Linked DNA regions of Homo sapiens: region 2 is linked to region 1. Evidence: promoter capture Hi-C in human tissues and cell types (Jung and others, 2019). All regions are on one chromosome and are shown on one strand. Each heading gives the region's core, a stretch centred on a gene start or on the middle of the fragment in contact. The rest is flanking DNA. Distances are from core to core; before and after follow the strand shown.

Region 1 (4,022 bases), core at 830-3,329:
TGGGAGCTTATTCCACATGAGTGCATATGGAACTGCCTTATTCTTTTAAAGGCTGCATAGTACCCCACAGTTTTAGATGGGTCTTAGTTGACTTAAGTGTCCCCCTCCTGATGGACAGACATCCAGGCTGGTTCCAATTCTGGCTTGTATAAACCATGCTGCACTGAATACCCTGAGGTATACATTCTCATGTATATAGGTGGGAGTATCTGTATTATGAATTCTGAAAAACAGAATTGTCTCATGGAAGGTACATATGTGTTAAATTTTCAGATTGCCACCCAAAAGATTGGATCAATTTATACCCTCGTCATTGTGTACAAAAGACAACAGGTCTATCTGATTTCATCTTAGCTAGGGTGGCATTTCTTCAAATCCTGGAGTCTAGTTGGGAGACCAAGCCTGAGGTTTCATGTTTGCAGTGTCTCCCTCACTGCCTCTGAACTTTTTGAGGGCTGGGGCTGAGCCTCATTCACTTCTAGGCCTTCAGGACCTACCAAGGAGTCTGACACCATAGTGGGTGCTTGTTAAATGTTTAGAGATGGGCCGGGTGTGGCGGCTCATGCCTGTAATCCCAGGACTTTGGGAGGCCAAGGAGGAGGATTGCTAGAGTCTAGGAGTTCGAGACCAGCCTGGGCAGCATAAGAAGACTCCATCTCTACAAGAAATAATAATAAAAAATAGCCATAAAAATTATGGTGCCTGGCTGTAGTCCCAGCTACTTCGGAGGCTGAGGTGGGAGGATCCCTTGAACTGGGGAGGTCAAGGCTACAGTGAGGTCAGATTGCACCACTGCACTCCAGCCTGGGTGACAGAATGAGACCCTGTTTTAAAAAAAAAGTTTCAAGATGGAGGCAGTCCCCAGGGCTAGATGTGGCAGTCCCACATCTGGGACTTTGGGAACTGACTCGGGGGGCAAGCTCCTTGGCACCCATGTGTTTCTCCTCCCTGCTTCCCCTCCCCTCCTTTGCTAGAGTTGGGTGAACTCCAATAGATTCCTGTGCAGGGGCTGCAGACTCGAATGTCCCTCCTCAGTGACAGGGGCAACACATTGGAAGACATTAGGGAGTGGTGGAGACTGTGGTGGCCGAGAGCAGCCAGGCTCAGCTCCACCTGGCTGTTGACAGGAGGAAATGGGGGCCCATTCTTTTTCAAGAGAAGCCATAAATCCAAAATTTTCTAAGTTATCTTGGTTTTAAAATGTTGGTTATTCAGATTTTTTTCAAAACACTGTGGAAGTCAATCAAAATTGTCCATGAACTGGTTGTAGCCTACAGGCCGCCACTTTTGGAATTCTGAAAGCTTTCCTCTGGCTCCTATTACACAGAGGAGAAAACTGAGGCCCAGAGAAACGGAGGCACTAGCCAGGAATGACACAGTTAAGATTAGCACCCTGGAGCCTGCGGGGTGGCTCACGCCTGTAATCCCAGAGACGCAGGAGTCTGAGGCAGGAGGATGACTTGAGCCCAGGAGTTCAAGGCTGCAGTGAGCCGTGATCGCGCCACCGCACTCCAGTCTGGGGGACAAAGCGAGATCCCATCTCTTTAAAAAAAAAAAAAAAAAAAGTAGAGCTCCGCTCCCACTTGCCCCCCATTCTCTCTCTCTCTCTCTTTCTCTCTCTCTCTCTCTTGCTCTACTCTCGCCCGTCTGCGTTCTACATTGGTTCTGCGGCCGTGTCCCTTTCGTGTGTGTCTGCCCTGTGTTTCTCCGTCGTCTCCGTGTGGATCTCGGTCTTTGTCTCGCCCTCTAGCTCTCTCGTGCGCCTGTGTTTAATCGTGCGCTTCTCTCAATCTCTCTGTCCCTCCCTTTGCCCCCTACACGCGTGTTCTCGTCAACAGATCTCCAGAGGTGGTGCAGAAACGACCCCGCGCCGGCGCCCCATCCTGCGGCCAGTGCCTCCGCGCCCCGGCTCCGGTCCCCACCGTCCCCGCCCCAGATTTCCGGAGGAGCAGGCGGGCGGGGTCCCGCGGGGCCGGCTGCCGTCAGCGCCCCTTCCCGGCGGCCGCGACCCCTCCCCGCTGACCTCACTCGAGCCGCCGCCTGGCGCAGATATAAGCGGCGGCCCATCTGAAGAGGGCTCGGCAGGCGCCCGGGGTCCTCAGCGCTGCAGACTCCTGACCTGCCGACTGCGGATCCCGAGTCCCCGGATCCCGGACCCATCCTGTGGAGCCCACTCCTGGCAGGTAACCGCCCCAACCCCTCTCCTTCCGCAGACGGTGTCCGGGAGCACTGGAAAGGGAGCCCTCTCGGCCCGCCCTCACCTTCGGTTCTCTGAGAGCTTCCTGGAGAACAGGGCCGGTGCACAGGCGGGCGCTGTGCTCGCACCCCCGGGTCCTCCCCGAGCGCAGGCCGGGGACCCGACGGGAGGCACGGCGCGGGCACATCGGAGGCTCTCGCTGCTGGGCACTCAGGTCGCCAGAGTCCGCAGCGCGGGGTGGGAGCTCCGCGGCACCCCCTGCCTGGGTGCCGCCGGACAGAGCTGGGTATTCAGGGCGTCGGCCTGAGAACCTGGGAGTTCGAATCCCAATCTCAACGCTAGAAATAGAATTTTAGCGTTGAAGTTAGGATTTTAGCGTTAGAATCAGATTCCTGGCTTAGTCATGAAAGCTTAGCATTAGAAATAGAATCTTAGCTTTGCAAATAGACTTTGAGCTTTAGAACCTGAATCTTAGCGATAGAAATGGGATCTTCGCGTTGGAATGAGGACGTCGGCCACGGAGCTTGGAGTTAGAACGTGGCGATGGGGACCTTTGGGGGAGTCTTGGCGGGGACGCAACCGTTAGCGTCGCGGCTGTGCCTGGCGCTGCAATCTCAATGGTTGCACTCCCGGCGAGGCAGTCCCAGCGTTGGCTTCCCCAGTTCCGCGTCACATTGAAGGGTGGCGGTGGCGCTGGCGATGGGGTTCCTACGGCCTCCTGCCTTGCGCAAGCAGAACTGGGCGCAGGCACTACAGGCACCCGTGGGGGCGAGGACGCCTAGAGGTGACAGGTGTGGACGCAGAGCCGGGGCGAACCCGCCGCTGCTCCCGCCCCTGCACGAGGGGCAGTGGTCCTGCTTCTGGGAGGGCGGTTGAACTGTGCGTGGTTTGTTTCTGGCGGGCGTCGGGGGAGATGGAGCGGGATGTGCTGTGATTCGGTGCGCTCAGGCTCCCTCTGTCCCCTAACCCAGACGCCGCGATGCCCGGCCCTTGGTTGCTGCTCGCTCTGGCTTTGACCCTGAACCTGACCGGTGTCCCCGGCGGCCGTGCTCAGCCAGAGGCGGCCCAGCAGGAGGCAGTGACGGCCGCGGAGCATCCGGGCCTGGATGACTTCCTGCGCCAGGTGGAGCGCCTCCTCTTCCTCCGGGAAAACATCCAGCGGCTGCAAGGGGACCAGGGTGAGCACTCCGGTGAGTGGATGGGGCTGTTGGGGGCTGTGGGGCTAGGCTATTGGGAGAGCCGTGGAAACCTGCCGGCAAAGGGGAGGGGAGGCTTGGTCAGCTAGCCTTCTGCCTTTCGGAAGCTCAGAAACCCTCCCTGGCTGCGCCTAGGCGGGATCTGGAGTTGACCATTCCTCGGGGTCAGATTCCTCCCCTGTCTCAATGCTGGGAATATTTCACAGAGAGCAGGCCCTGGGTGGGGAAGCTTCTGTGTGCTAGGGAGAGAGTTTCTTTGTGTGTGACAGTTTGAATTACTACTGTCTAGGCACTTCTGTGCCAGACACTATTCCAAGCACTTCAAACACCTTATCACACTGTTTGATCTTCCTAACAACCTCTTAGTTAGGTACTGTTATTACGATTTTACACAGAAGAAAACTGAGGCTCCCAGAGATCAATTGAGTCGCTTATGGTCAGACAACTAGGGAGCGCCAGAGCTGGGATTGGAACCCAGAGGCAATGCCTTTGACTATTGTGTGAATGTGTGTATCTGTGAGGCCTGAGGGGCAGGTGCAAGACCATGCCTCTGAGTGGGAGCTGCAGGAAATGTACCCTGCCTGGGAGAAAAGCAGGAGTGGGCACTCAGGCGCCTGCCTATTACATGG
Region 2 (4,022 bases), core at 893-3,392, 130 kb after region 1:
GCAGTGGCGCCATCTCAGTTCACTGCAATGTCTCCCAGATTCAAGTGATTCTCCTACCTCAGCCTCCCGAGTAGCTGGGATTATAGGCGTGCACCACCACGCCTGGCTAATTTTTGTGTTTTCAGTAGAGATGGGGTTTCACCGTGTTGGCCAGGCTGGTCTTGAACTTTTGACCTCAGGTGATCTGCTCACCTCAGCCTCCCAAAGCCTCAGCCTCTTACAGTGTTGGGATTACAGGCATGAGACACTGTGACCCGGGATGATTTTCAATCACGGTTTTTTGTTACGAGTGGAAAATGCATATTTATAAAAATGAAGTAGTACAGACATGAACGTGTAGCAATCTCTATAATCCTGCCATCCAAGGATGGCACCTGTTAACGTGCATATCAGGGATGTCCAATCTTTTGGCCTACCTGCGCTACATTGGAAGAAGAAGAATCGCCTTGGGCCACACATAAAATACACTAAAGCTAGCAATAGCTGATGAGCTAAAAGAAAAAAAAATCACAAAAAAACCTCATATTGTTTTAAGAAAGTTTACAGATTTGTGTTGGGCCACAGGTTGGACAAACCTGCTATATACATGTTCTAGGTTTTCCCCTATAGGTATACCTATGTGAAAATGATTATTTTGATACATTTTTTTTTGAGATGAAGTCTTGCTATGTTGCTCAAGGTGGCCACAAAGTCCTGGGCTTAAGCCATCCTCCCGCCTCAGCCTCCTGAGTAGTTGGAATATAGGTACTCATAACCACGTGTGGGTGATTATTATTAGTTTTTAAACAAAAATGGGGCTGGGCGCAGTAGCTCACGCCCGTATTCCTAACACTTTGGGAGGCTGAGGCAGCAGATCACTTGAGGTCAGGAGTTCAAGATCAGCCTGGCCAACATGGAGAAACCTCGAATCTACAAAAAATACAAAAATTAGCCAGGCGTGGTAGCACGCACCTGTAGTCCCAGCTACTCAGGAGGCTGAGATGGGAGGATAGCTTGAACCTGGGAGGTGGGAGGATGCAGTGGGCCGAGATGGCACCACTGCACTCCAGCCTGGGCAATACAAAGCCAGACTCTGTCTCAAAAAAAAAAAAAAAAAAAAAAAAAAAGGTTGGTGGGGGCTTATACTATATGTACTGCTTGGCACTGTTTTTTTTTCACTTAAAAGATATTGCAGGTTTTTTTTCACGTAAGTATCTGAAGAAAGACTTCCTTTTTTTTTTTTTTTTTTGCTTTTTTGCTTTTTTGAGACAGGGTCTTGCTTTGTTGCCCACGCTGGAGTGCAGTGGTGAGATCAGGGCTCACTGCAGCCTCCACCTCGTGGGCTCAAGCCATCCTCCCACCTCAGCTTCCCGAGTAGCTGGGACTACAGGCATGTCCAACCACATCTGGCTAGTTTCTGTATGTTTTGTGAAGATGGGGTCCCACTATGTGGCCCAGGTTGGTCTTGAACACCTGGGGTCAAGTAGTCCTCCTGCCTTAGCCTCCTAAAGTGCTGAGATGACAGGCCTGAGCCCCACGCCTGGCCAGCCTCCTGTGCGAGGTTGTGCGGGACTCTGTCATGGAACCCAGTATGTCTTCGCGTGCTGGCTTGTTTGTTGGCTCTGTAGTTAACGGGCTGCCCCACGTGGACAGGCACTGGGTCGTCCATGTCTCTGTGTGCAGGCAGAGGCTGCTGCGGGTGCATCTTTGCACATGGCTGCCAGGAGGGGCTGTGCTCAGGGGGAGCTGGGGCAGAGTCTGGTGGCAATGGGGGGCTTGGGTGTAGTGTGGAGGCACTAGAGCCAGGTGGCCGGGCTGCAGTCTGCGGGAGCTCGGGGGTCTCTTGGCCTCTGTGTGTCCTAGTGTTTTTGTCGGTGAGATGGGACAATGACAGAACACCCTCACAGGTGCTGGGGGCTGACCAATGTCAGGTCTCAGGACAGTGGCTGGCCCACTACGGGGCCAGTTGCCCTTCTCTATAGTCACCCTGCTCGTCTTCCATCAACTGGGTGCTCAGGACAGTGGCGTGGTGGATCCGCCTGTACAGCCTGTGCTCCAGCATCCTGCAGGCCACAGCTGTGTCCAGCCCTGACCCCGACTGCCCCTCCCACCACCTCCATTTTATAGATGAGGAAACCGAGGCCCAAGGGCTTAGGGAAACCTGCTCTGAGGCACATAGTAGGGCTGCTGGGCTCAGACCCTCCCGCCCTGTGCTGAGCTGCCCTCCTCCTGCCGCAAGCCCCCCACGCCCCAAGCCCACCCTGCTCACCGGCCTCTGCCCGAGTTCCCCGCATGGTGTGGGAGTGTGGGGCATCCTAGCTTTTTGCTGGCACCCAGTTCTTTCACTTCCACTGGAGTCCTGCAGGGACAGCTCGGGGACCATGCAGGCCCGGGTGGGCGTGGGGGCTCACCTAGCTCGGTGGTGAACACCTGGCACGTCTCTGGGTTGCGGACGGTAAAGGCCATGTAGACCTCAGGAGCCCGCTGGTGCTCCCAGCAGGCAGCCAGCCTCCGCAGGACCCCGACCAGGGACACGATGGCTTCTGGGCAATACAGCACGTCTACGGTGAAAGCTTCAGGTTACTGAAAGGGACAAGTGGAAAGTTCCAGTTCATGCTGACCTCAGCAGCAGGGTGAGGCCAGAGAGGCAGCGTTCATATGAGACTATTAGATGCCATTTGACCATTTGGGCCATTAGATGGAAGGGCAATTACTTGGGTGAAAAAGGAGAACCCTTAGTAGAGAAAGCTGCAAAAGACCGAAGCAAAAGAAAAAAATCTCCAGACTCACTGGTGTTCCTTAAAAAACCAGCTCTGGTTCTGGGCCTATCTAGAGGGCTTTGAATGGCAGAAAGCCTGACCCTACCGTGAACTTCGTGTTTCAGGTGTCTGCCGATTGGTCTGCTGGCTTGCAGGGGTGGGCCTCTGTCCCTGGCCACCGCTGGACCTGTGGGTTTCAGGGCTGGGACCCAGGACCACAGGCAGAGCTCTGTTCCACCAGAGAGGGGACTGAGTGTGCTGGCAGGGGTGAGGGGTTTTTGGTGGCCCAGCCAAACACCACCTTCTCCCAAGGGCCCTGTCCTCATCCCAGAAGTGGTTGTTTTCCTCCTGTGGTCTCTGAAGGACACAGGGCATGGCTCTGGAACAGAGCCGTGTGGTGACGACTGTAACGGGAGTATGCCTGTCTCCAACAAGAGGGCTGTGGCTTGAAGGTCACCTTAAGAGGCACCCCTGTCCTTTGATGTCCCCCTGGAGGCCCGGAGTAACTCTTCTGGAAGCCCCATCATGTCCATGCCCGACAGCATCCACTGTTCCCTTTTCCCAGAGCCAAGAGCTGGGTAGAGCTGCAAGGACACCGCCTGCACAGGATGCCCGGGGCTGGGCATTACCTGCTGTAATGACAACATCTGGCTGGAAGGCAGAGAGCTGATGGACCGTCGCTACATCCCAGTCCAGCTGGGCCACTGTCACCCTGGGGCTATCTAAGTTGGCAGTGATGTCTGCCTCTAATGAGAGGCCATTGAGAAGGACATTCCCTCGGAGCTGCTCGAGGACCCGGCTGTGACAGTCGCTGAAGATGTATGTCCGGGGGTGGCACATCTTGCAGATGGACAGGCCTGTAAGGCCGGCGCCACTGCCAAGCTCTAGGACAGTCCTGGCGGGAGGAAAGGGGACCGTGTCTTCGACTGCACCAGGGTAAGCCTGCCTCGGTGCCCTGCCCTGTGCCCCGAGGTCACCTGTTAGTGAAGGCTGCCAGGTTCTCAATGACCCATTCTGCAAGGTAGATGGCGGCTGCCCTGTGCCCCGAGGTCACCTGTTAGTGAAGGCTGCCAGGTTCTTGATGGCCCATTCTGCAAGGTAGCGGGCAGCGTCCCATGTGACCAGGCCTGTGGTACCGTGGGAGATGATGGCTGTGCTCGGAGAGTGTGACCGAGCCTTCCGAGGGCTGTACCAAGAGAGGGTGAGACAGTAAGTCCAGCAATCAGAAAACAAGTGGCTTAGAAGACAAGTAGCCATCCGCCACATGGCTGAATAAACCATGAC

What was found. Contacts are between HindIII fragments. The study calls those that stand out against the background at their distance.
Region 2: a contact is called between a fragment that was not itself captured here and the fragment with the promoter of TRH in region 1, in 2 of the 25 tissues and cell types used here (H1 embryonic stem cells and thymus).

The regions. Positions count from the first base shown.
Region 1 is chr3:129,972,641-129,976,662 of GRCh38, forward strand. It overlaps TRH (thyrotropin releasing hormone), which reads left to right and starts at 2,080. Exons shown (of 3, transcript NM_007117.5): 1 at 2,080-2,183; 2 at 3,169-3,387. The coding sequence starts at 3,177. It also overlaps the pseudogene LOC124906284. The HindIII fragment of the contact is 6,189 bases long and covers 1-3,114 here.
Region 2 is chr3:130,100,374-130,104,395 of GRCh38, forward strand. It overlaps the pseudogene FAM86HP. Among named protein-coding and RNA genes, the nearest start is that of LINC02014, 8.1 kb to the left of the region's middle. The HindIII fragment of the contact is 7,534 bases long and covers 1-4,022 here.